5 separate regions of the Homo sapiens genome follow, and all the other regions are linked to region 1. The links are contacts of gene promoters, found by promoter capture Hi-C in human tissues and cell types (Jung and others, 2019). All regions are on one chromosome and are shown on one strand. The core of a region is centred on a gene start or on the middle of the fragment in contact, and the rest is flanking DNA. Distances in the headings are between cores, read along the strand shown.

Evidence for each region. The method cuts DNA at HindIII sites, captures the fragments that hold promoters and counts their contacts. A contact is called where the count stands out against the background at its distance.
Region 2: a contact is called between a fragment that was not itself captured here and the fragment with the promoter of DNAJC28 in region 1, in 3 of the 25 tissues and cell types used here (hippocampus, mesendoderm cells and spleen).
Region 3: a contact is called between a fragment that was not itself captured here and the fragment with the promoter of DNAJC28 in region 1, in 1 of the 25 tissues and cell types used here (H1 embryonic stem cells).
Region 4: a contact is called between a fragment that was not itself captured here and the fragment with the promoter of DNAJC28 in region 1, in 3 of the 25 tissues and cell types used here (dorsolateral prefrontal cortex, mesenchymal stem cells and mesendoderm cells).
Region 5: a contact is called between a fragment that was not itself captured here and the fragment with the promoter of DNAJC28 in region 1, in 1 of the 25 tissues and cell types used here (adrenal gland).

The regions. Positions count from the first base shown.
Region 1 is chr21:33,488,790-33,493,633 of GRCh38, reverse strand. DNAJC28 (DnaJ heat shock protein family (Hsp40) member C28) reads left to right here and starts at 1,918. Exons shown (of 2, transcript NM_001040192.3): 1 at 1,918-2,032; 2 at 4,210-4,844. The coding sequence starts at 4,241. The HindIII fragment of the contact is 10,582 bases long and covers 1-4,844 here.
Region 2 is chr21:33,131,588-33,136,084 of GRCh38, reverse strand. No RefSeq gene overlaps it. Among named protein-coding and RNA genes, the nearest start is that of LINC01548, 36 kb to the left of the region's middle. The HindIII fragment of the contact is 9,056 bases long and covers 1-4,497 here.
Region 3 is chr21:33,097,970-33,102,337 of GRCh38, reverse strand. No RefSeq gene overlaps it. Among named protein-coding and RNA genes, the nearest start is that of OLIG1, 30 kb to the right of the region's middle. The HindIII fragment of the contact is 8,649 bases long and covers 1-4,368 here.
Region 4 is chr21:33,000,994-33,005,672 of GRCh38, reverse strand. No RefSeq gene overlaps it. Among named protein-coding and RNA genes, the nearest start is that of OLIG2, 23 kb to the left of the region's middle. The HindIII fragment of the contact is 7,473 bases long and covers 1-4,679 here.
Region 5 is chr21:33,861,976-33,866,417 of GRCh38, reverse strand. It overlaps ITSN1 (intersectin 1), which reads right to left. Exons shown (of 40, transcript NM_003024.3): 32 at 1,084-1,267. Among named protein-coding and RNA genes, the nearest start is that of ATP5PO, 52 kb to the left of the region's middle. The HindIII fragment of the contact is 6,469 bases long and covers 1-4,442 here.

The DNA of each region.
Region 1 (4,844 bases), core at 669-3,168:
CTTTTAGGAAGTTTTGCTTGGTGGCTTTTTTTTTTTTTGAGACAGTGTCTCGCACTGTCACCTGGGCTGGAGTGCAGTGGCGCAATCTCAGCTCACTGCAACCTCCACCTCCAGGGTTCAAACGATTCTCCTGCCTCAGCCTCCCGAGTAGCTGGGATTACAGGCATGCGCCACCACGCCCATCTAATTTTTTGTATTTTTAGAGAGATGGGGGTTTTCCGTGTTGGTCAGGCTGGTCTCAAACTCCCGACCTCAGGTTATCCACCTGCCTCAGCCTCCCAAAGTGCTGAGATTACAGGCGTGAGCACTGCGTCTGGCCTTATTTTTCTTTTTAAAAATTTTTTAGTGGCCAGGTCTTTTTTTTTTTAGACGGAGTCTGGCTCTGTCGCCCAGGCTGGAGTGCAGTGGCACGATCTAGGCTCACTGCAAGCTCCGCCTCCCGGGTTCACGCCATTCTCCTGCCTCAGACTCCCGAGCAGGTGGGACTACAGGCGCCCGCCACCACACCTGGCTAATTTTTTGTATTTTTAGTAGAGACGGGGTTTCACCGTGTTAGCCAGGATGGTCTCGATCTCCTGACCTCGTGATCCGCCCGCCTCGGCCTCCCAAAGTGCTGGGATTACAGGCGTGAGCACCGCGCCCGGCCAGAAATCCTATTTTCTTTCACATGAGTTATTTTGTTGATTGTTTGCTTATAACTAAAGCCCTCAGAATCAGAGTTTATACTGTATCTTTTTCTGTGTTCCTACATAGATGGCAATAAATGATTCTAATGTTTATGATGTAGAAGCTGAGGAGGCTAATACCTATTTCTGGCTCCTTTTAGGAGACACAGTCATAACAAAAAATATTGCTTAATGTGCGAGGCACAGTGCCAAGTGGTTTACATACATTGTGTAATTCTCCCCCTAAAAAAGTCAATGAAGTTGATACAATTATTATTTCATTATATGTAAAATAGGGAAAATAACAGCATTTATCTCAGAGGGCTGTTGTAAAGATTAAATGAATGCCTGTAATCCCAGCACTTTGAAAGGCCGAGGCAGGCAGATCACCTTAGCTCAGGGGTTCGAGACCAGCCTGGCCAACATGGTGAAACCTGGTCTCCACTAAAAATACAAAAAAATTAGCTGGGCATGGTGGTGCGCGCCTGTAATTCCAGCTACTCGGGAGGCTGAGGCAGGAGAATAGCTTAAACCCGGGAGGTGGAGGTTGCAGCGAGCCGAGATCGCGCCACCACACTCCAGCCTGGGCGACAGAGCGAGACTCTGTCTCAAAAAAAAAAAAAAAAAAGTAAATGAGAATATACATAAAGCACTTAGCACAATGGCATACTATTTACTATAGTTTACTATTTATTGCAACTCTCATTTTGCAGGTATCTTGCCTAAGGTGCAAGCAGAAGAAACAGGATTTTCAACCCAGATCTGAAAACTCCCAAGCCTCTGCCTTTTTCTTTTTATCCTTTTTCTTTTTCCTTGTTAAAAAACTTGCTTCCTGTACAGAGAGGGGAAATGCTCAGTCCCCACGTCAGTGGTTGAACTCCAAGCCAGAAGATCCCTATTTTGATTTTGTCCTCTGGCCTGTCGCCAGCCCCTCAACAGTACTTGAATTAATAAAAGGGCAGGTTTTAAGCCTCATGTATCTGCGCAGGTGACTCCTTCTGTGACCCCGAATAAACCTGTTCCGGTCCCGTTCCGGGGAAACAGCCTTGCCTTCCCCTGCCCCCAGAAAGTTACCCTCGCCCTCCGAGCCACAACTCCCCACGCCGCCAACTCGGTCTTTACATCATTTTCGACGCCCCCTAAGTCCCTCCCGAGAGGCGCAGGCGCACATCGCCCCTTCTAGCGAACTACATCTCCCACAATCCCAATCGGCCGGACCACCTCCGCTCGGGGCGGGGACGGAGGTGGAGCTGGTGGTCCCCGGTCGGGACGAAGGCTCCCGAGGTGCCCTGCCTGGGTCCTCCGGGGTAAAGTTCGTTTGGCGGAAGATTGTCCGTTTTCCTGGTAAGGTCACCTGTCCCAATCAGGTACGATTCTGCCTTCCGTACCCCCGAGCCCCTCAGTGTAAAGTGGCAAATGGTCTAGCCCGGCGGAGGCACCAGCTGGAGGCGGTGGGAGGGACACCCGCAGTGAAGGGCGGACCGCGCACGCATGCGCAGAGGCGCGGCAGGGGGGCGGGAGCCGCGGAACCCCTACCCCAGGTCTGCGCAGGTGAGGAGGGGGCGGGGCAGGACCGACCTCCCTTGCCATGATAACCACCTTCGCAGCCGGCTCCCAGACCGTTGGCACCGATTGCCTAGAAAATAGGGGGTCTCAGGAGCTCCGTTTTAGCGTTTATATATCCCAATTCCAATTAAGCCACTTCCAGTATTTTTTGGCCATTGTCAGTGTACAAGTCTTCCTCCTCTTCGAGACCATGTTATTGCAATAGCAGCAAACGTGTTGGGAGGCCTCACAATTCATCATGGTTTTTCTGGCCTCTGGCAGATAGCTCCTTCCTAGCGAGCTGTGGAGCTTAAAGTCTTTTGGACACTTGATTCTATTCAATCCAGTATCAGACCAGGTACGTACCTTGTCCATAAGTCGTCTTATGAGAAGACTTCTTGAGATGATGCAGACTCTCGTGCAGTTTATAATCGGCTGGAGGTATAGACAGTTAAGCAAGCCTCCTTTTTTACTGTGCCCACCCCTAACCATTTTGCTTACACCTTGTTATGGGACTTGGTTAAATTGCTTAACCTTCCGGACCTACGTTTTCTCATTAAATGAGAAGATTGGATTAGATGATCTCTAAGAACTTTCCACTTGTAAAATATACGGTTAGTTAGTGAGGGGTAGAATCCAGATTCTATCTATCTATATTTTTTTGAGACAGAGTCTCACTCTGTTGCCCAGGCTGGAGTGCAGTGGCACGATCTCGGTTCACTGCAACCTCCACCTCCCGGGTTCAAGCGATTCTCTTGCCTCAGCCTCCCGAGTAGCTGGGACTGCAACCTCCAGTTAATTTTTGTATTTTTAGTAGAGACAGGGTTTTGCCATGTTAGCCAGGCTGATCTCGAACTCCTGACCTCAGGTGATCCACCCACCTCGGCCTCCTAAAGTACTGGGATTACAGGCGTGTGCCACCGTGCCTGGCCCCACAATATGTTAACACTAAACTTCATCAGCTTCCACTTTTCTGCCCACATCAGTGAAATATAGCTATAAGAATGCAGCTGGTGGGGCTGGGTGCGGTGGCTCACGCCTGTAATCCCAGCACTTTGGGAGGTCGAGGCGGGCAGATCACAGGGTCAGGAGATCGAGACCATCCTGGCTAACACGGTGAAACGCCGTCTCTACTAAAAATACAAAAATTAGCCAGGAGTGGTGTCGTGCACCTGTAATCCCAGCTACTTGGGAGGCTGAGGCAGGAGAATCGCTTGAACCCGGGAGGCAGAGGTTGCAGTGAGCCGAGATCATGCCATTGCACTCCAGCCTGGGTGAGACTCTGTCTCAAAAAAAAAAAAAAGAAAAGAAAAGAAAAGAAAAAAGAATGTGGCTGGGCACAGTGGCTCACCCCTATAATCCCAGCACTTTGGGAGGCAGAAACTGGCAGATCGTTTGAGCTCAGGAGTTGGAGACCAGGGTGGGCAACATGACGAAACCCCATCCCTACAAAAATACAGAAATTAGCCAGGTGTGGTGGTGCACGCCTGTAGTCCTAGCAACATGAGAGGCAGAGGTGGGAGGATCACTTCAGCCCAGGAGGTTGATGCTGCAGTGAGCCACGATTGTGCCACTGCACTCCAGCATGGGCAACAGAGCAAGACCCTGTCTCAGACAAAAAAAAAAAAAAAAAAGGCTGAGCGCAGTGGCTCATACCTGTAATCCCAGCACTTTGGGAGGCCGAGGCGGGCAGATAACCATGTCAGGATATCCAGACCAGCCTGGGCGATATGGTGAAACCCCTTCTCTACTAAAAATACAAAAAAATTAGCTAGGCGTGGCTCTGGAGGTGGAGGCACCACTGCACTCCAGCCTGGGTGACAGAGCGAGACTCTGTCTCAAAAAAAAAAAAAAAAGGAAAAAGTTGACAGCAGCATTCAAAAGAACTGCCCCTTGTTGTACTTATAAATTCATGCTGTATCTTTTACCTTATTGCTGAAAATAAGAAATTAACTGATAATACAACTTTGTTCAACCTATATTTGTTGTCGTTTTATAGGTCATTGCTAGGAAGAACTCTGGGTACAATAATGAATACAATGTATGTGATGATGGCTCAGATCTTAAGATCTCACCTGATAAAGGCTACAGTGATTCCTAATCGAGTGAAAATGCTTCCATATTTTGGTATCATTAGAAATAGAATGATGTCAACCCATAAATCCAAAAAGAAGATCAGAGAATATTATAGACTGCTGAACGTGGAGGAAGGATGCTCTGCAGATGAAGTCAGGGAATCTTTTCATAAGCTTGCCAAGCAATATCATCCTGACAGTGGCTCTAATACTGCTGATTCTGCAACATTTATAAGGATTGAAAAAGCTTATAGAAAGGTGCTCTCCCATGTGATAGAACAAACAAATGCCAGTCAGAGTAAAGGTGAAGAAGAAGAAGATGTAGAAAAATTCAAATATAAAACACCCCAACACCGACATTATTTAAGTTTTGAAGGTATTGGTTTTGGGACTCCAACTCAACGAGAGAAGCATTATAGGCAATTTAGGGCAGACCGTGCTGCTGAACAAGTGATGGAATATCAAAAGCAGAAACTACAAAGCCAGTATTTTCCTGATAGTGTAATTGTTAAAAATATAAGACAGAGCAAACAGCAAAAGATAACGCAAGCTATAGAAC
Region 2 (4,497 bases), core at 468-2,967, 360 kb after region 1:
ACCATCCACCTGCTCCTGATTTTAACCAGTCTCCCATTCTTCACAGTCACCTGACTTCTGTTTGCTCACTGTCCTTGAACTAAATGTGCATGATCTTCCCAGATATATTCTTTTGAAAGAGGAGAGTTTGTATTTATGTATTCTGTGTGGTGCCTCACACACAGAGATAATAAATGGTGGTGAATCGACCCTCTGCCTTGCTGCCAGGATGGTTTCTGGGCATAGAGAATTGAGGGTGAAGTAGAATGTTTTATTCCAGAAATTCCAAAGCAATTCAGTGGGCTAAGGTGCTGAATCAGGACTTCTTACAATGAGCCAAATGCCCACCTTGAACTTGGGTGCCAGGAATTCACGGTTTTGTAAAACCAGGGTGATAAGCCATGTCTGGATGTCTCCAGATTTGTGAAATTTTTATATACTGCCTAAATATTTTAAAAATTTATTTTTACACATTTGCATTACATGTAAAAAAATTTATCATTTTCTGTGTGGTTGAATGGTAGAAGAAAACTTCACATAACAAATAATAAGTTTGGAGAATATTCTATAATTTAAGTGTTATGAGCAAGTTTCCTAAGGAAAAACAAACAAAATGAAACTGTCTAAATATTTTAACAACCATTCGTTATATGTAAATATTATAAATAATATACACATATTGAAATAAGAGAAATGTAAACAATAAAATAATTGATGAGATAAAAGCTCCTAAAATCAGCAAAATAAATAATGCTTTTTTTTTTTTTAAGACAGGGTCTCGCTGTGTCGCCCAGGCTGGAGTGCAGTGGCACTATCTCAGCTCACTGCAACCCCCACCTCCCGAGTTCAAGCAAATCTCCTGCCTCAGTCTCCCAAGTAGCTGGGACTACACCTGTAGTCCCACCACCACACCTGGCTAATTTTTTGTATTGTTAGTAGAGACGGGGTTTCACTGTGTTAGCCAGGATGGTCTCAATCTCCTGACCTCGTGATCCTCTCGCCTCGGCCTCCCAAAATGCTGGGATTACAGGCGTGAGCCACCGTGCTTGGACATAATACTCCGTTTTAATAAAACTTCCCAGGAGACAAATATGATTTTTGTGATTGCTTGAATAGCAATGGAGAAGATTACAATGAAATTAGACCCCTGTCCCCCAAAACCAATGCAATGATGGATTGGCCCCATCTCAAAGGAAAAGTCCACCTAGAAGACCCAGAGCAGGCTGGGGACCTGTTCTCAGTGACCCTGGGGGCCGGGTGTTGGTGGGCAGCTGTGCCACTGAGGAGTGAGAAACGGTGGGCTTGGCCTTTAGCTGACCACTGGGGTGACCACTGTGGTAACTGCACGGGGCTGCCAGAAAAATGACGTTTTGAGTGGTGTCTCATCTAGACTGCAGGTGCTCACTTACACCTTGCTGGCTGTGTGGTTTGGGGCAAGTTACTAATCCTTTCTGTGTCCCCTCTGTCTCTGTATCTGTCAAATAAATATAATGATTGTACCTAGGTAGTATGTTATGAAGATCAAGTGAGCTTATATTTGTAAACTTCTTGCAGCAGTACCTGGCATATCTCAGGCAGCAGTCGCTGTGATAACAGTGACGGCTAGCCCTTCCAGCAGCATAGTCTGCAGATACCAGTTGTGCTACATACACCTAACAGGGAAACAAGAAGATCTGGCATTGAGTCCTGGCTCACCACTTGATGTTCAGCAAAAGCCTTTAGCTGCCTTGAGCCTCATCCTCCTGCCAGGAGAATGGAGCTAATGACACCTCCCTTACAAAGTTATTGTTAAGATTCAACCAGACCTGCATCCTGTGAGCTGTGGCGCACTCTCTGTGGGTGGCATTGGAGCAGGTGGGCAAGAGGGAAGCATGGCTTTGACTTGGGCTTTGCCTTTGACTGGGGAGCTGACTGCAGCCTCCATCTGGGTATGGCCTCTGGACCACATGCTGTTCTCTCGCCTTTCCCACCCCTCTCCCCCGCGACAATATGCTAACTGGTGTCCTTCTCTACAGGATCCCGCTTCCTGCCAGGTGACAGCAAGATAATCCAGCCACACACTCCTTGCTAATGGGGATTAGGGTGCTAATGGATTCTCCCTCTAGGTTAACATATGCACTTTTACAGAGGGGCCTTCTGGAGATGATGCTGATGCCAGAGAAATGACTCTAATGGGCCAAGTTTGGACGCAGTGGGAGGGACCCTTGCAATGGGCCGCCACGTGCTGTCAGTCAACCCCATTCGCCTCTACATAAAAAGCCTGCCAAACTCTTCCGATGAAGCCACCCCTTCACTCCATTCTCTGTCATATCAATGAAGAAAGTTTTCCTTGGAGGAGAAACAATATATCTCTTAGTCCATTAATCAGTTAATCTGTTATTTACTGACCACTTTGTAAAACCATAATGATAATCATCATTTATTAAGCACCTACTACACACCAAACTTTGTAGTGTTTTATGTATTTCACTTCATCTGGTTTTCACAACCATCACCTCCCCACCTTACAGATGAGCAGACAAGCTTTTTGATTTTTTAAAAATTATGACAAAATACATGTAACATAACATTTACCATCTTTCTTTATTTTTTATTTTTTTAATTTGAGACCAAGTCTCACTCTGTCACCCAGGCTGGAGTGGAGTGGCACAATCTCAGCTCACTGCAACCTCTGACTCCCTAGTTCAAGTGATTCTCCTGCCTCAGGGTCCCGAGTAGCTGGGATTACAGGTGCACACCACCATGCCCAGCTAATTTTTGTATTTTTAGTAGGGACGGGGTTTCACCATGTTGACCAGGATGGTCTCGATCTCCTGACCTTGTGATCCGCCAGCCTTGGCCTCCCAAAGTGCTGGGATTACAGGCGTAAGCCACCACGCCCAGCCAAAATTTACCATCTTAACCATTTTTTAAGTGTATAGTTCAGTGGCATTAAGAACATTCACAGCCAGGCGCAGTGGCTCATGCCTGTAATCCCAGCACTTTGGGAGGCTGAGGCGGGTGGATCACCTGAGGTCAGGATCTCGAGACCAGCCTGACCCACAGGGCGAAACCCCATCTCTACTGAAACAAAAATTAGCTGGGCGTGGTGGCACTTGCCTGTAATCCCAACTACTCGGGATGCTGAGGCAGGAGAATTGCTTGAACCAGGGAGGTGGAGGTTGCAGTGAGCCGAGATTGTGCCTCTGCACTCCAGCCTGGGCGACAGAGCGAGATTTGGTTTCAAAAAAAAACAAACAAATAAACAAAACGTTCACATTGCTGTGCAACCATCACCACCATCCAGCCATACAAAACTCCTCTGGTCTTGTAAAACTGAAACTGTGTACCCATTAAACAGTAACTCCCCACTGCCTGCTCCCTTCAAACCCTGGCAATCACCATTCTACTTTCTGTCTAGGAATTCGACTCATCTAGATACCTGATGTAAGTGGAATCATATAGTATTTGTCCTTTCGTGTCTGGCTTATTTCACTAAGCATAATGCCCACAAGGTTCATCCATGTTGTTGTATGTGTTGGAATTTTCTTCCTTTAAACGTATATCTATGCTACCTTTTTTTTTTTTTTTTTTTTTTTTGAGATGGAGTCTTACTCTATTGCCTAGGCTGGAGTGCAGTGGTACTGTCTCAGCTCACTGCAACTTCCACCTCCAAGGTTAAAACGATTCTTGTACCTCAGCCTCCCAAGTAGCTGGGGCTACAGGTGTAAGCCACCCCACCTGGCTAATTTTTGTATTTTTAGTAGAGACAGTGTTTCACCATGTTGACCAGGTGGTCTCAAACTCCTGACCTCAGGTGATCAGCACCTGGCCTACATTTTGTTTTGATGGACACTTGGGTTACTGCCACCTTTTGGCTATTGTGAATAGTGCTGCTCTGAACATGGGTGTGCAAATATCTCTTCAAATCCTTGCTTTCTATTCTTTTGGGTATTTACCCAGAAGTGGAATTGTTGAATTATATGGTATTTCCATTTTCAATTATTTGAGAAACGGCCATACTGCTTTCCCTAGCGGCTGTACCATTTTACATTCTCACCTATGGTGCCCAGCGGTTCCAGTTTCTCCCTATCCTCACCAACACTTGTCATTTTCTGGTTGTTTTGTTTTGTTTCTTATTGTAGCCCTTTTAATGAGTATGGAGGAGACGAGCTTCTGATTGGATGCTAAGGGGCTGTAGTCAAGCTTCTGATTGGATGCTAAGGGGCTGTAAAGTAGTCAAGCTTCTGATTGGATGCTAAGGGGCTGTAAAGTAGTCGTGTCCTCGCGCCCTTGTGAAATAGTTACAGAGCCTGCTACACTATTCCTTTGATACAGAGAACAGTAAGTCACAGCATATAAGCAAGGGTTAGATGGAGCATCCAGAGGACGATGGCAGGGAACAAAAGAGAAGTCCTGAGAAGGATCGTGGGACCAGACCAGGCTTTGTGGAAAGCATGGGGCTGAACTGTGCCCCAAGGGTGCAGAGAAGGTGGGGAGTGTGTTCCAGGAGAGGGGGCCACCGGAACAATGGTGTGC
Region 3 (4,368 bases), core at 1,544-4,043, 390 kb after region 1:
CGCTGGGGCTCTGTCTTCCGCAGTTCCTAAATTATGTCCTGCCAGAGCCCTGGCGTCCTTTGGGCCACACTCAAGTGTCCTAATGAAAAATGGATGGCTGTGGTCTTTGCCCCCAGCTCACTGAGACTGTTGAGGGCAAGGAAACAGCCCCCACCCCCCTGGCTTTTTTCTTGCTCAGTTTTACTTCCAAGCTCTGTTTTCTTAAATCTTTGTAGTCGTGGCCACATTTATAAACTCAAATGTGACATTAAACGGCATCTAATTTGACACTAAATAGTATGCTTAGTAGTTTTTGCTATCATTAAACTGTGTTTCTTGGGGTTCCACAAACAGCCTGCTGACCTCCCATCCCCCTAGCAGGAGGCTGGAGGATGGGGCCTCCCCGCAGAGCCTGGAGCGTCCCAGGGGCTTCTTCTGGGACCTGTCCTCCTGCTTCCCCGCTCCTTTCAGGCCGCCCTGCCACCTGCCCGGCCTGGGGGATGAATGGGAGCTGTCAGCCTCTGGGCAGAGTTATGGAGGCCCACGGGCCACTGGTTGCCTAAGGAACCGGCCCAGGCGCCTCTCATCCCTCCGGCGTCCTCGCTCCCAAGTCCCTTCAGCTCCCACTTGAGTCTTTGTCTCTCTCTCTGGACACCCCAGGCCACAGGCCGAGGTGAAGATCCTGCCCCTGGTTCTGTTGTTCTCAGTGGGCGCCGCCTTCTCGGCCCCCTCCCTGGCCCAGATGACAGCACTTAGTGACCTTTCACACGAGCACTTCAGGCCTTTGTGTGGGGCAATTGGGCTTCCTGCTCTTTCTGTGAGCGGACACGGATGACAGCATTACAACTGTCAGCCCGCCGGGGCGCAGCGGGAGCCATGGGCCGGCAGGGCAGCCCGGGTCCACGCGGCGGCAGTCACAGCCGCAGCAGGGGCGGATAGAGGAAGCTGGGACCATGGTTGGCCCCCTCACGCCCAGCTCGGGGTGACTCAGGCCTCAGGGGAGCGTGTGCATGGAGGCTCTGGAGAGCAGCACCCCCACCTCCAAGGAGGAGCTGTGCATATTCAGTGCCACCTGCCTGTTGCAGAGGAAGGCCACATGTCCCAAGGTGACTCCTGCCCACCTCTGTGGACACAGACTCGGGGCTGCTCCTGGTTATGACTTAGGTGTGCGACTCCACAAGGAAGTCATCTCATCTCTTTATGTATTTATTTTTCTCTCTATATATATTTTTGAGACAGTGTCTTGCTCTTTTGCCCAGACTGGAGTGCAGTGGCTGCGATCAGGGCCACTGCAGCCTCAACCTCTTGGGCTCAAGCGATCCTCCCACCTCAGCCTCCCAAGTAGCTGGGATTACTGGTGTGTGCCACTATGCCAGGCTAATTTTTGTTGTTGTTGTTATAGAGACAGGGTTTCACCATGTTGCCCAGGCTGGTCTCAAACTCCTAGGCTCAAGCAATCCTCCCTCCTTAGCCTCCTAGAGTGCTGGGATTATAGGCGTCAGCCACTGTGTCAGGCCCATCTCATCTCTTTTGACAGTTAGTCGCATAGTTTTCCTTGTTCCAGGTCTATTAGGAAGGAAATATAAAATACCTTCAGCTCCCTGGAGAAAAGCCCTATGTGGAATCCAGACTACAATAAATACAAACTAGAGTGCTACTACTGACTGCATTACTCCTACTATGATTATTACTATTCTCAGAATTCCTCAGAGCCTTGCATTTCCTGATGCTCTGATGGAATATTAAAACTAAGGGAAAGGAAATGGAATAATACAGCCCATATAATTCCAGCTACGTGAAAAATCGAGTTGTGTGTTCGATTATATATGTGTAGAATAAACAACGGGAAGGAAGCACTACTCACTGTTCACAGTCATTATCCCTGGGAGGTGGGTTATACATGACATAGAGTTTCTTTTTCTATTTCAGTATGTATTTGAATTTGATATGAACCTGCATGTCTTTTATAATCAGAAAGAAACAGTAAATGTTTTAAAAATATGCTCATTTGGGAGAGTAGGGAAGGGGGAATAGTTAATGGGTACAAATATTAGAATAAATAAGACCTAGTATTTGCTATCACATCAGGATGGCTACAGTAAAGAATAATTTAATTGTATGTTTTTAAATAAAAGAGTATAATTGGATTGTTTATAACACAAAGGATAAATGGATACCCTATTTACCCTGATGTAATTATTATGCATTGCAGGCCTGTATCAAAATATCTTATGTAATCCATATATACACCTATTATGTACCCACAAAAATTAGAAATAAAAGTTTTTAAAATGCTCATTTATATTTTGTGTGATTGTAAAAGACCCTAGGAATGTTCTGTATTTCTCTTCTGTTTGCTTGAAAATGAAGCAATTGCTGCCTTCCTAGAAGCCGAGGGTAGGTTGTTTAAGAGAGGAAGTCTGACCTGACGTACACATCCACCTTCAAGAAATAACTTCAAAAAGGGCTAAGAGGCTGGTGCGGTGGCTCACGCCTGTAATCCCAGCACGTTCAGAGGCCGAGGCGGGTGGATCACCTGAGGTCAGGAGTTCGACCAGCCTGGCCAACATGGTGAAACCCCGTCTCTACTAAAAATAGAAAAATTAGCTGGGCGTGGTGGCGAGCACCTGTAATCCCAGCTACTCAGGGAGGCTGAGAGGGGAAAAATCACTTGAACCTAGGAGGCGGAGGTTGCAGTGATCGGTGATCAGTGTGGGCAACAGAGCGAGACTCCGTCTAAAAAAAGGGCCAAGAAAGGAACTGGAGTTTGCTCTCCTCCTACCTAAGGTGATGAAAGGCAGACATGGCATATTTTCTGTGCCTTATCCTGCCTTGGAATAATCTAGCAAGTTGTTTTGCAGGGGGCAATCTTTTTCTTTCTAATTTGGTGCTAAGGGAATGGGCAGAATAAGTCCCCGTGTGAGTGCAGATGCCTCAACTTTGTGCAGTTGCCATTCGTGCCCCGAGAGTGTGGTCTCATTGCATCATCACCAGGAGGACCCCTCTGCCCAAGGGTGCCCCAAGAAGCACATACTGAAGGCACGTGTGGAACTCTGGTTAGCATCACTTCCATTTCTGGTAAATAAGAAACCTGGGCCCTTCTGCTGTTTCAGGCAACCCTTAGTGAACTCACGGGCATTTTTTCCTTTTTTTTTTGAGACAGAGTGTCACCCTGTCCCCCGGCTGGGGTACAGTGGCACGATCTCAGCTCATTGCAATCTCCACCTCCTGGGTTCAAGCGATTCTTGTGTCTCAGCCTCCCAAGTAGTTGGGATTACAGGCACATGCCACCATGCCTGGCTAATTTTTGTGTTTTTAGTAGAGACGGGTTTTCACCATGTTGGACATGCTGGTCTCGAACGCCTGATCTCAGGTGATCCGCCTGCCTCGGCCTCCCAAAGTGCTAGGATTACAGGCGTGAGCCACTGTGCCCGGCCAGAATTTTTTGCATTTTAGTAGAGATGGGGTTTCACCATGTTGTCCAGGCTGGTCTCGAATTCCTGAGGTCAGGCAATCCACACGCCTCGGCCTCCCAAACCGCTAGGATTACAGGAGTGAGCCATCGCACCCAGCTGCGTTTTTTAAATCTTCGTCTCATACATCCTCCTCAGTCTTCTAAGAACGTAGACGGGCAATTTGCAATCAACTGAAATCAAAAAGTCTCGTTTTAAGTGTCATAATGATACGGTGCAAACCTAGAAGGCTATCGTTGGGGAGTATTTTTCTTGGTCACACTGGATGTTGGGCAAGTTACCAAGGCCCCCAGACACTTCAGCTTGTCCGACCTTAGAGCCTGCATTTACATTGATTAGTGAATCGCTCAAAAGAAAGCCACAGGCCATTGCACATTAGCTTTGTCTGGTGACAGAGGAGTTGATCCATGCTCTACCTCTCCCTCACAAACTCACCTCTCCCAGCCTTTTTCCTCGATTGGATTGGTTTGACATCTGATTGCAACGTCTTTACAGATGATCAATCTATTCTTTTCAAGGGGCAAATCAAACTCAGAAAATCTCTGTCAACGCAAGAAGGCAATGACAAAAAAGGAAGAGAAATGCTTTAAACCCAAAAGTAGGACTTTGAGAAAAGGCAAGTTGCAGAAGCAAGTGGTCCCGGGACCCAGGCTCATCAGGACGGGGTGAGATGCCTGTCTTGCAGAGGCCCAAACACCAAAGATTTATGATACCTTTTCCTTCATTTTGGCCTCAGAAAAATCCCCTCTTCTCCCTTTAAAGTCATTTCCCAAATGCTCACCAAAGCCTCTCAAAAAATTTTTTTAAAAAAATAAAATAGAGATTTTATTGTAAAAGCAATTTGTGTTAATTGTAAAAAAAAAAAAAAAAAAAAAGTCAGTTAGTACCAAGGAAAAAATAAAAATCAACCAAGTCC
Region 4 (4,679 bases), core at 1,883-4,382, 490 kb after region 1:
GCAGGACTTTAGTTCTAACAGTTCTGGAGCATGGGAAGTCCAACCTCAAAGTGCTGGCATATTCAGTATCTGGTGAGGGCCCATTCTTCACAAAAAGTTCCTTCTTCCTGCATCCTCACTTGATGGAAGGAGCAACCAAGCTCCCTCAGGCCCTTCTTATAAGGGCACTAATCCCATTCAAGAGGGCCCTGCCCTCATGGTCTAAACACTTCCCAAAGGCCCCATTTCTTAATACTATCCCTTGGGGATTAGCATTTCAACATACAATTTTATAGGGAGACACAAACATTTGGGCCATAGCAGTTGGTACTGTTAGGTTACCCAAAATCCACTCCCTCTGTCATTCTTGTTAATTGAGCCTCAGCTATGTTCAGGTGTTCATCCCTTAGGGACGGTGGTGACTTGAGGCCCTGCTGGGTAAACTCTGCCTCCCATTTCTCTTGTGTGTTAATGTGATTCATGTGGTGAAGTTACAGACCACGCTCATGGGGAAACCTCCAGGGACCACTGAAGAAGGTTTCCTTGCTCTTAAAAAGAGCCAAGAGCAGGAGACAGCTCCAGGTCTTTTGCTGGATGTCTCTGGGTCTCGGACTGTGCCAGTCATCTTGCTAACTGCCTGAGGATGAAGCCAGTTCACAGAGTGGGGTGACTCCACAGAGAACCTTGGAGAAAGAGAACGCAGCACTAACGTACCATGCCTGGAGTCCACCCTGCCTAGGGACTTCATGTCCGAGTGACTCCTCTTGTTGTTTAAGTCAGCTGAATGGCGTCAGGGGCTCCACTGAGCTGAGAGAGAGACCTGAGCTGTCAGGTGTCTGAGTAGCCAATTAAAGCAACAAGCCCAAAATGAGGGTTAAGCCTGTAATCACTTACAGCAATGGTACAAGCAAGAGGCTAAAACCAGAGGAAGTGCCAACTCCTCTGTCCATTTTCCCCCATGGAACAGGAACCTGTGGAGGGGCAGTGGATTCATGCAGATGTGGTCACCTCATTGTTGACAGAGACCCAAAAAAATGGCTCCGGGAGTTGTATGGACCTTGGGGATAAGGGGTAAGGGAGAAGGGCTCAGTGGGAAAAAGCACTGAGTGCTGAGCCAGAGTCACAGGGAAGCATCTTCAAGGTTTCTCCCTCCTTCCCTGTATTAGTCTGTTTTCACACTGCTGATAAAGACATACCCCAGACTGGGCAATTTATGAAAGGAAGAGGTTTAGTGTAATCACAGTTCCACGTGGCTGGGGAGGCCTCACCATCATGGTGGAAGGTAAAAGGTACATCTCCCATGGTAGCAGACAAGAGAAGAGAAACTGTGCAGGCAAACTCCTCTTTATAAAACCATCAGATCTCATGAGACTTATTAACTATCATGAGAACAGCAAAGGAAAGACCCATCTTCATGATTTAATTACCTCCACCTGGTCACTCCCACAACATATAGGAATTGTGGGGCTAAAATTCAAGAGGAGATTTGGGTGGGGACACAGCCAAACTATATCATTCCCCCATAAGGAGGCCTTGGCAGAGGTGCCTGAAGAAGACCATGGACACAGAGACCCGGGAATGAAGGTGCAGGGCTGGGAACACAGGTGCATGTAAGAGCATGGCCGGCCAGGGGCCTGATACCTTGCCCGCAGCTCCCTCCTGGGAGTGCCACTGCCCTGGCTGTGCCAGGTCTGGTGTGGAGTGGGAGTCTCCCCATAAGGCCTGCCAGGTACAGCCTTGTAGTTTCCCACAGCCAGGCCTGAAAAATCACAACTAAAAGTCAGACTCCTCAGTGGGAGGTTCTATTACTTGCCATGGAAAACATCATAACATAACAATTTGGAATCTCTTAGTAACGAGGAAAAAAAACCCAACTCAGATGGGTTTAAAAAAATAAAGGATACGTGATTTTAAAATGGACAGAGGACTTGAATACACATTTCTCCAAAGATGATATATGAATGGCCAACAAGTATCTGAAAAGATGCCCCACGTGACTAACCATGAGAGACATGTAAATCAAACCTACAATGAGATATCACCCCATACCCAGCAGGATGGCCACTATAATAAAAACCCCAGAAAATACCCAGTGTTGGCAGGGATGTGGATGTGTTCATCCGTCTCTTCACTAGCTGTTAAATGCTACTAGTGTTAGGCCCTGAGCATAGAAAAATGGTTAAGACAATAGATGTAGACAGTAGTCTACTTAGGGACATTGTCAGAAGAACAAATACAGTAACTGCTGTAATAGATATACATACACTATGTGCTGTAATTTAAAAGTACTATAATAGAAATTTTGTGTATTAATGTATTTATTTATTAAGGGTCTCACTCTGTCACCCCGGCTGGAGTGCAGTGGCACAATCATAGCTCACTGCAGCCTCCAATTCCTGGGCTCAAGCAATCCTCCTGCCTCAACCTCCCAAAGCGCTGGGATTACAGGTGTAAGCCACTGTGCCCAGCTGCTCCTGACAGTTTTATGAGAAGATCAAGCACTTTTATTCCTGCTAAGTTCCCAGTAAACCTCTCCTAACCTTCCATTGGCTGGATTCATGTTATTTTTCATTGAGCCAGTCACTGTGGCCAGTTGGATGGGATGTGCTGATTGGATTCACCAATCAGGGCCCATTCAGGAGTAGAAGGGAGAGCTCACTTTTTCAGAGGCACATGGGAAGGTAGTATAGTTAAAAGAAAATGAGATGGAGGCAACTAGAAGGGGGAATGGATGTTAGGCAGGCTACAAGATACAGTTGCCAATTACATTGTGACATATGGGTTGCTAACCTGGCATAAAGAGTTCAAATTATTGGCTGGGCACGGTGGCTCATGCCTGTAATCCAGGCACTTTGGGAGGCCGAGGGAGACAGATCACGAGGTCAGGAGTTCGAGACCAGCCTTACCAACATAGTGAAACCCCCATCTCTACTAAAAATACAAAAATTAGCCAGGCATAGTTGCGCACATCTGTAGTCCCAGCTACGCAGGAGGCTGAGGCAGGAGAATCACTTGAACCCAGGAGGCGGAGGTTGCAGTGAGCTGAGATTGTGCCACTGCACTCCAGCCTGGGCAACAGAGTGAGACTCTTTCTCAAAAAAAATAAATAAATAAAGAGATTTCAAATTATTTTAATGGGAGAGGTAGCTGCAGCTTTCCCTGTGTTTAGCCAGACTAAGAGCCTCCCCACTAAACCAATGACAGCTGAGGATATAAGATGTGTATCTCAAGGTGTCAGCCACTCCTTGGCCATAAGTCCAGACCAGTGACTAGAGGTCTGGCAGTAGGTATTAAATTTTTCCGGCCTGTGTGATGCTTCTCTTCTTCCCTGTCCTTTGTGGAGTCATAGATATGAGCTACCAGAAGACAAGTGGAGGAAAATGGCTGGAAAAACAGACAGAACCTGATATTAGCATTCTTGGTACTGAAAGACCTGGGCTCATCTTCTGTTTCTGTAATTTTCTGGCTGTGTGAGCTTTGGTAAATTTCAGAACTTTTGTGATTCAGCTTCATCTATAAAACTGGAGTAATGATGTGATGATCAAATTTGCAGGGTTGAGATAAAGATGGAATGACATCAAGGTGCTGCCCTATAGAAGTACTCAGTAAATGGGAGTTATTTTTTGGGATTAATTTATTGAGGGCTTTGTATGTACCAAGTGCTATGCTAAGTGCTAGAAATATACTATGCCATTTCATTTTCCCAACAAGTCTATGAGGTAGGCATTTTATCTACATTTTACAGTTATGAAAACTGAAGCTCAGAAAGGTTATATAACTTTTCTTTTTCTCACCCAGACAGCAAGTGGATTCGGACAAGTCTGTCTGATGCCTCGGATGGTATTTTATTTGCTACATTATACTGTCTCCTGCACTGCTGATGAAAAACGGTTGCTCAGCTGAAACCTATTAGCCCCCAAGGTGATCTGTGGATGAGTTTCAGGGAATCTCTCAGCCCCTTTATATGATATGCAGACTTCTGTGTATATATTCACTTTTCTGGAGAGAGAGTTTATAGCATTCAATAGAAAGCTGTCCCTGTTCTCCAAAAAATGGTAATTTTTAATAAGGAGAAATCACATAATATATGTAGCAGAGTTTTATTCCATTTCCATCTATCCAGCTATGCATGGGTTGGACAATGGGTAAAAACATGTAGTTAGAGAGAAGGTATAAATTCTAATGTTCAATAGCAGAGTAGGGTGACAATAGTCATATATTTCAAAGTAGCTAGAAGAGAGATCTTGGATCTATCCATCCAATAAATATTTACCCAGGGCATTCTTTTCATCAGGCACTGAACTAAATGCCAGGATTACCTTTGAAAGACAGGATTTCAAGTATGTAAACATTTGTTTTACAATAAAGAAAACTTGCATCTACTGGTGAGATATGTTTTTCTCTGATAATGACTATTATGTAAATTGTTCTATATTCCCTTTATACTTTGGTGGCCAGAAAGCTTAGACTAAAAATTCTTATATTCTTATTTTAGCTCACATTGATTCTTACTCTTTAACTCCATTTAAAAATCTACATTTATTTTTTACTATATGTATTGGCATTGTTGGCTGCCTCAAATTGTCTATGAAATGAGCTGAGAAACAAAACCAATTTATTTAAAAAAAAAAAAAAAAACCAAACAAGCACAATTAAATTTTTGTTGTCTCACTTTTTATTCCATGACTCATGGGAAGCTT
Region 5 (4,442 bases), core at 1,605-4,104, 370 kb before region 1:
ACTCATCTTGCTCGGGCCTAGGAAGAGCCCAGCCCTTGGCTGAAACCCTAGGTGGTCCATGGCGCCCAGCAGCTCAGCATCTGCTCTCTCGTCTCCATCCACCCAAGGCCTCCTTCTTAGCAATCTTTCTCCCCTTGGAATGACCTCAGAGTGCCCCATGCCTTGGCTGGCAAGTCTAGGCTGAGAAACACCATGAGAGGCAGAAACAACAAGCTCACATGAGGCTCTGACCAAGAAGAGGCTGCGCTTGTGCCTCACCACAGTGATTCCACAAGCACCACTCTAGGACAGGTGAGGATGGCCTGTCTCCAAAATGCATGAGATCCAAAGATATGCCTGTTATTATTATTTTGTTGTTTATTCATCAAAAGATACCTGTTTCACAGAAGCTATTTTATTCTCTTCCTCCTTTTTTTCTCCAGGAGATGTGGGGGCTGTTTGAATGGCCCAGCACGGCCAGCAGAGACCCACACTGGCCAAGGCCAAGTCCCAGAGCTGCAGGTCTTCCAGCAGTATCCGCATTACCTCCCCAAACATCCCCTGGTGGACTCCCAACTCTCCAGATCCCTGCTACCTCCAAGGAAGAGGTCCTGGCATCCCACACTGACTCCCACAGGCTGTCTAAGGCGGGAGCACATCAAGCAGAACCAACTGCGAAAGGAATGAAGGGGCCACTGGGAGTCCTGGCCATTCCCTCTGCAAGTGAAGGGCAGAGACCAGCAAAGAACTGAGGATGTGGCGATTAAACACAAGAGGAAATCTAAGACCTGCCTGGGCCTTGCAAATGAAATGAAAGATTTAAACATGCATCCAAATAACACCAATAGCATCTGGAAAACAGATCCCTAAAGACACTTTCAAAGCTTCCAAGCCCAGGGTTCACCCCTCCTCTCCAAGCCCACCCCTTTGGTGACAGCCACACTTGCCAGTGAGTGCCAGTCCCCTAAGGCTTAGCCAAGACCCTAGGCCCTGTTGGCCTCTAGTGGGAACACTCTTGCAGACTTTTGAATTAGCCCCTCACACATCCAGCTGCCCAAAGATCGCCACTCTGGGGCCCAGTCTCTGCACAGCCTGGCTCCTTACTTTGACGAACTCCTTGAAGTCTGGGGCCTCATCCGTCTTCTGCTGGATCAGGGCAGCCCCGTTGAGCTGGCGGCTGCAGAAGCGGATGTAGGGCTGCATGTGCGGCAGCTGTGCGCTCAGGATGTCTCCAATCATCTTCACAGGCATCTTCTCCCCGGACATCTTCTTGCGGACTCTCAGCGCTCTGCACGGAAACACGGGAGGTGAGCCCCCTGCTTTCACGCTATCTGACAGCACCACAGCACACTTAGGTTGCACAGAAACAGAATGTGTGTGAGGGGCACAGCCTTAAGGGCCACTAAAGGATCTATTTGGGAGACAAGGAATGGAGAAAGAAATGAGTCTAGGGCTACAGAGAGGTAGCACCAGAGCATTTTTCTTTGGCAGAGTGGCTGTTTGTTACAATTTGTTTTTCTTGTGCAGAAATATGGAGTTTTTTTCTTGAACAACTCAAATGGGTCCCCTGTGTCGATGCCTCACTACACAGATTATCGGTGGTGAAAGCCCCAGGTTGATGTGGCCTGAGCACTGATCCTATTTCCAGGAGACACTTCTGCCCAAGGGAAGTTGCTATTGCCAGAGGATGGGGAAGGATGATTTTTGGCTAAAAAGAACATAATTAAGATGGCAAAACAAATGCCTTGGCAAAATAATCCCATGAGATTCAGCAAAAGCCAGGTATAAATGACTGTTTGAAGTATCTCTGTGATTCGCTGCTTCATTGCTAGAGCTGAGTTAACTAAATTAAGAGGAGTTCGGAAAAGAGGTCTATTACTATGATAATGGGCCAATGAACCCAAAAAATGTATATCCTGGAATTCAGGAGAGGTGTTGATGGGACTGGGAAGTGTGTGTTCTGGGGTCTGCCTGCAGTGTGAGTGCTCAGAGCTATGGTAACTAGGACTGTGCTTCCCCTCTCCCAACTTCAACATGTGAACCCTTAACACCAGCATCTGGAAGAAGGGCATGGCACTGAGCTTATACACGGTAAGGACAGCAAGGTACTACATGGCAGGACCACAACATGAAGCCATGGGTGTGTTCAGCTATCCTAGTTAGTGATCATGGGTGGATGGATGGGTAGATGGAACAAAATGGTATAACCTATGACTTTAACACAAGGCTGGGAGGATGTCCCTATTGAATGCCTTTGGCTGCTTTCATGGTCATGTTGGAGAAGCCTTTGAGGTACGGGGCGGGCTATTGAATTCCAAGGAAGCTCTGCAATATTTATATTAGGCTTTAAAAACTTCAGATCACTTTCTTTTCTTTCTCCCACATTTTTGGCTAAAATAAAGTCCCTTGGACCGGGCAAGCCAAGGAGAAAAACTTAGGGACCATAAATGATGTGGTGTGAGCAGTCAGCGATTCCACCTGAAGTGGATGCCCTCATGGGGAGATCAGCACTGGCTGCCTCTGGGGTGTGGGGAGCAGTGGCAGCTTGGTGTCCTCAGGATGGCCCAAAGGCCACTGCCCCATTGAGGGGTTGGTGTGAAATACCACAACGAGCAAAAATGTGCTCAAGGGTGATGACACCAATAATTTGGGGGGATGAGAGCCCTGGATAGCCACGTTATAAACTTGCAATGAATGGAAACAGGAAGAAATTCCATCATTCCATCATTTTCCTATGAGGAGTAGTTTTTTTAACAAGTGAATAAAAAGTACTTTCACCCTTTCCTTCTCCTATTTTGTTTTGTTTTGTTTGAGACAGAGTCTCACTCTGTAGCCCAGGCTGGAGTGCAGTGGTGCAATCCCAGCTCTACAACCTCCACCTCAGTCTCCCGAGTGGCTGGGACTACAGGCACCCGCCACCATGCCCAGCTAATTTTTATTTTTTTAGTAGAGATGGGGTTTCGCCATGTTGGCCAGGCTGGTCTCGAACTGCTGACCTCAAGTGATCCACCCACCTTGGCCTCCCAAAGTGCTGGGATTATAGGCATGAGCCACCGTGCCCGGCCCCGGCCGCTGGCCTGTTTTTTATTAAAGGATGAAGGAGACAAGAAGAAAAGAAAAGAAGAAAGAGCATCTGCAGACAGTGATTGTCTTGAGGAATTAGTTCCTGGGTTCTGCAGACCCACACTTGTAGAACAGAGTTACCCAACCAGCAGACAGGCCTAAAATTAAAGCCTGATTTACTATGGACTAGGCACCTATTAGATTCAGTCATGGGTCTTCGTCCAGGATGGTCTACTGTATAGGCAAAGACTTATGAAGACCGCAAGGTGTTACCAGGCCCAGGGATCATGTGACTCGGCTGCTGCAGCCACAGCCCTAAGAGTACTCTGCTTGCGGTGAGCTGATCGGCAGTCTCCTAGAAAGGTTTACAGATGAGAGGACTTGAACTGCAAAAGGCAATTAACTGGCTAACAAATGTTTCAAAGAGCGCTCAATGATTGCTGAACACATGAGTGTCTGTAACCCTCTGAAGTCTGCAGACCAAGTGGACAGTCATGGAACTAGCATTTATTAATGCTTCCTATGTGTCAAACAGAGTTTTACATATATTATTATCCCCATTTCCTATTGGGGAAACTCAGGCATGCAGAAATTCAGTGACTTGACCCAAGTCTCAGAGCTAATAGGTGACAGAGGTAACCCTGGAACCCAGGTCTGACTCCAGAGCCCATGGTTGGGACCACAGCCTCAGAGGCCCCAACCCACCTCCCGCCACGACTGCCTCCAAGCTGCTCTGGGCACCTGCCCATCTTCCCAGACGCGGCTGCCCTGCTCCCGCCATCTCGCCCTCAAGCCTTTCCCTGCTGGTCCCAGCCTCAGCCTCTGCACTTCCCGCCCTGCTGGACTTCCCACCATCTGCTCCATGCCCTCTCTCCTTCCCTCTTCTCCTTCTCCCAACCCCACATCCTTTTCTTCTTCTTTCTCACCATCTGTCATTACCCCAAACTGATTTTTATTTTTTATTTTTCCTTCATTTTCTGCTTAAACAAGATAAAATGGAATCCATTCTTCTTAAGTTAAAAAGAAGATGAGTCAGATATTTAAGAAAAACACTGTTTTGGGACAAGCTCTTATTTTTTTTTTCTTTTCTTTTTCCATCGAGGGGACAGGAAAGCCTCTTGATAAAAAACAGTTCCCCAAACCTGGGTTGGTCACCCCACCTCACTTCTGCTTCCCTTCTGCTATCATTTTTTTTTTTTTTTTTTTTTTTTGTGACACAGTCTCACTCTGTTGCCCAGGCTGAAGTGCAGTGGCACGATCTTGGTTTACTGCAGCCTCTGCCCCCACCGGGTTCAAGCAATTCTTCTGCCTCAGACTCCTGAGTAGTTTGTATTACAGGCATGCGCCACCACGCACAGCTCTTTTTTTTTTTTTTTTTTTTTTTAGTAGAGATGACGTTT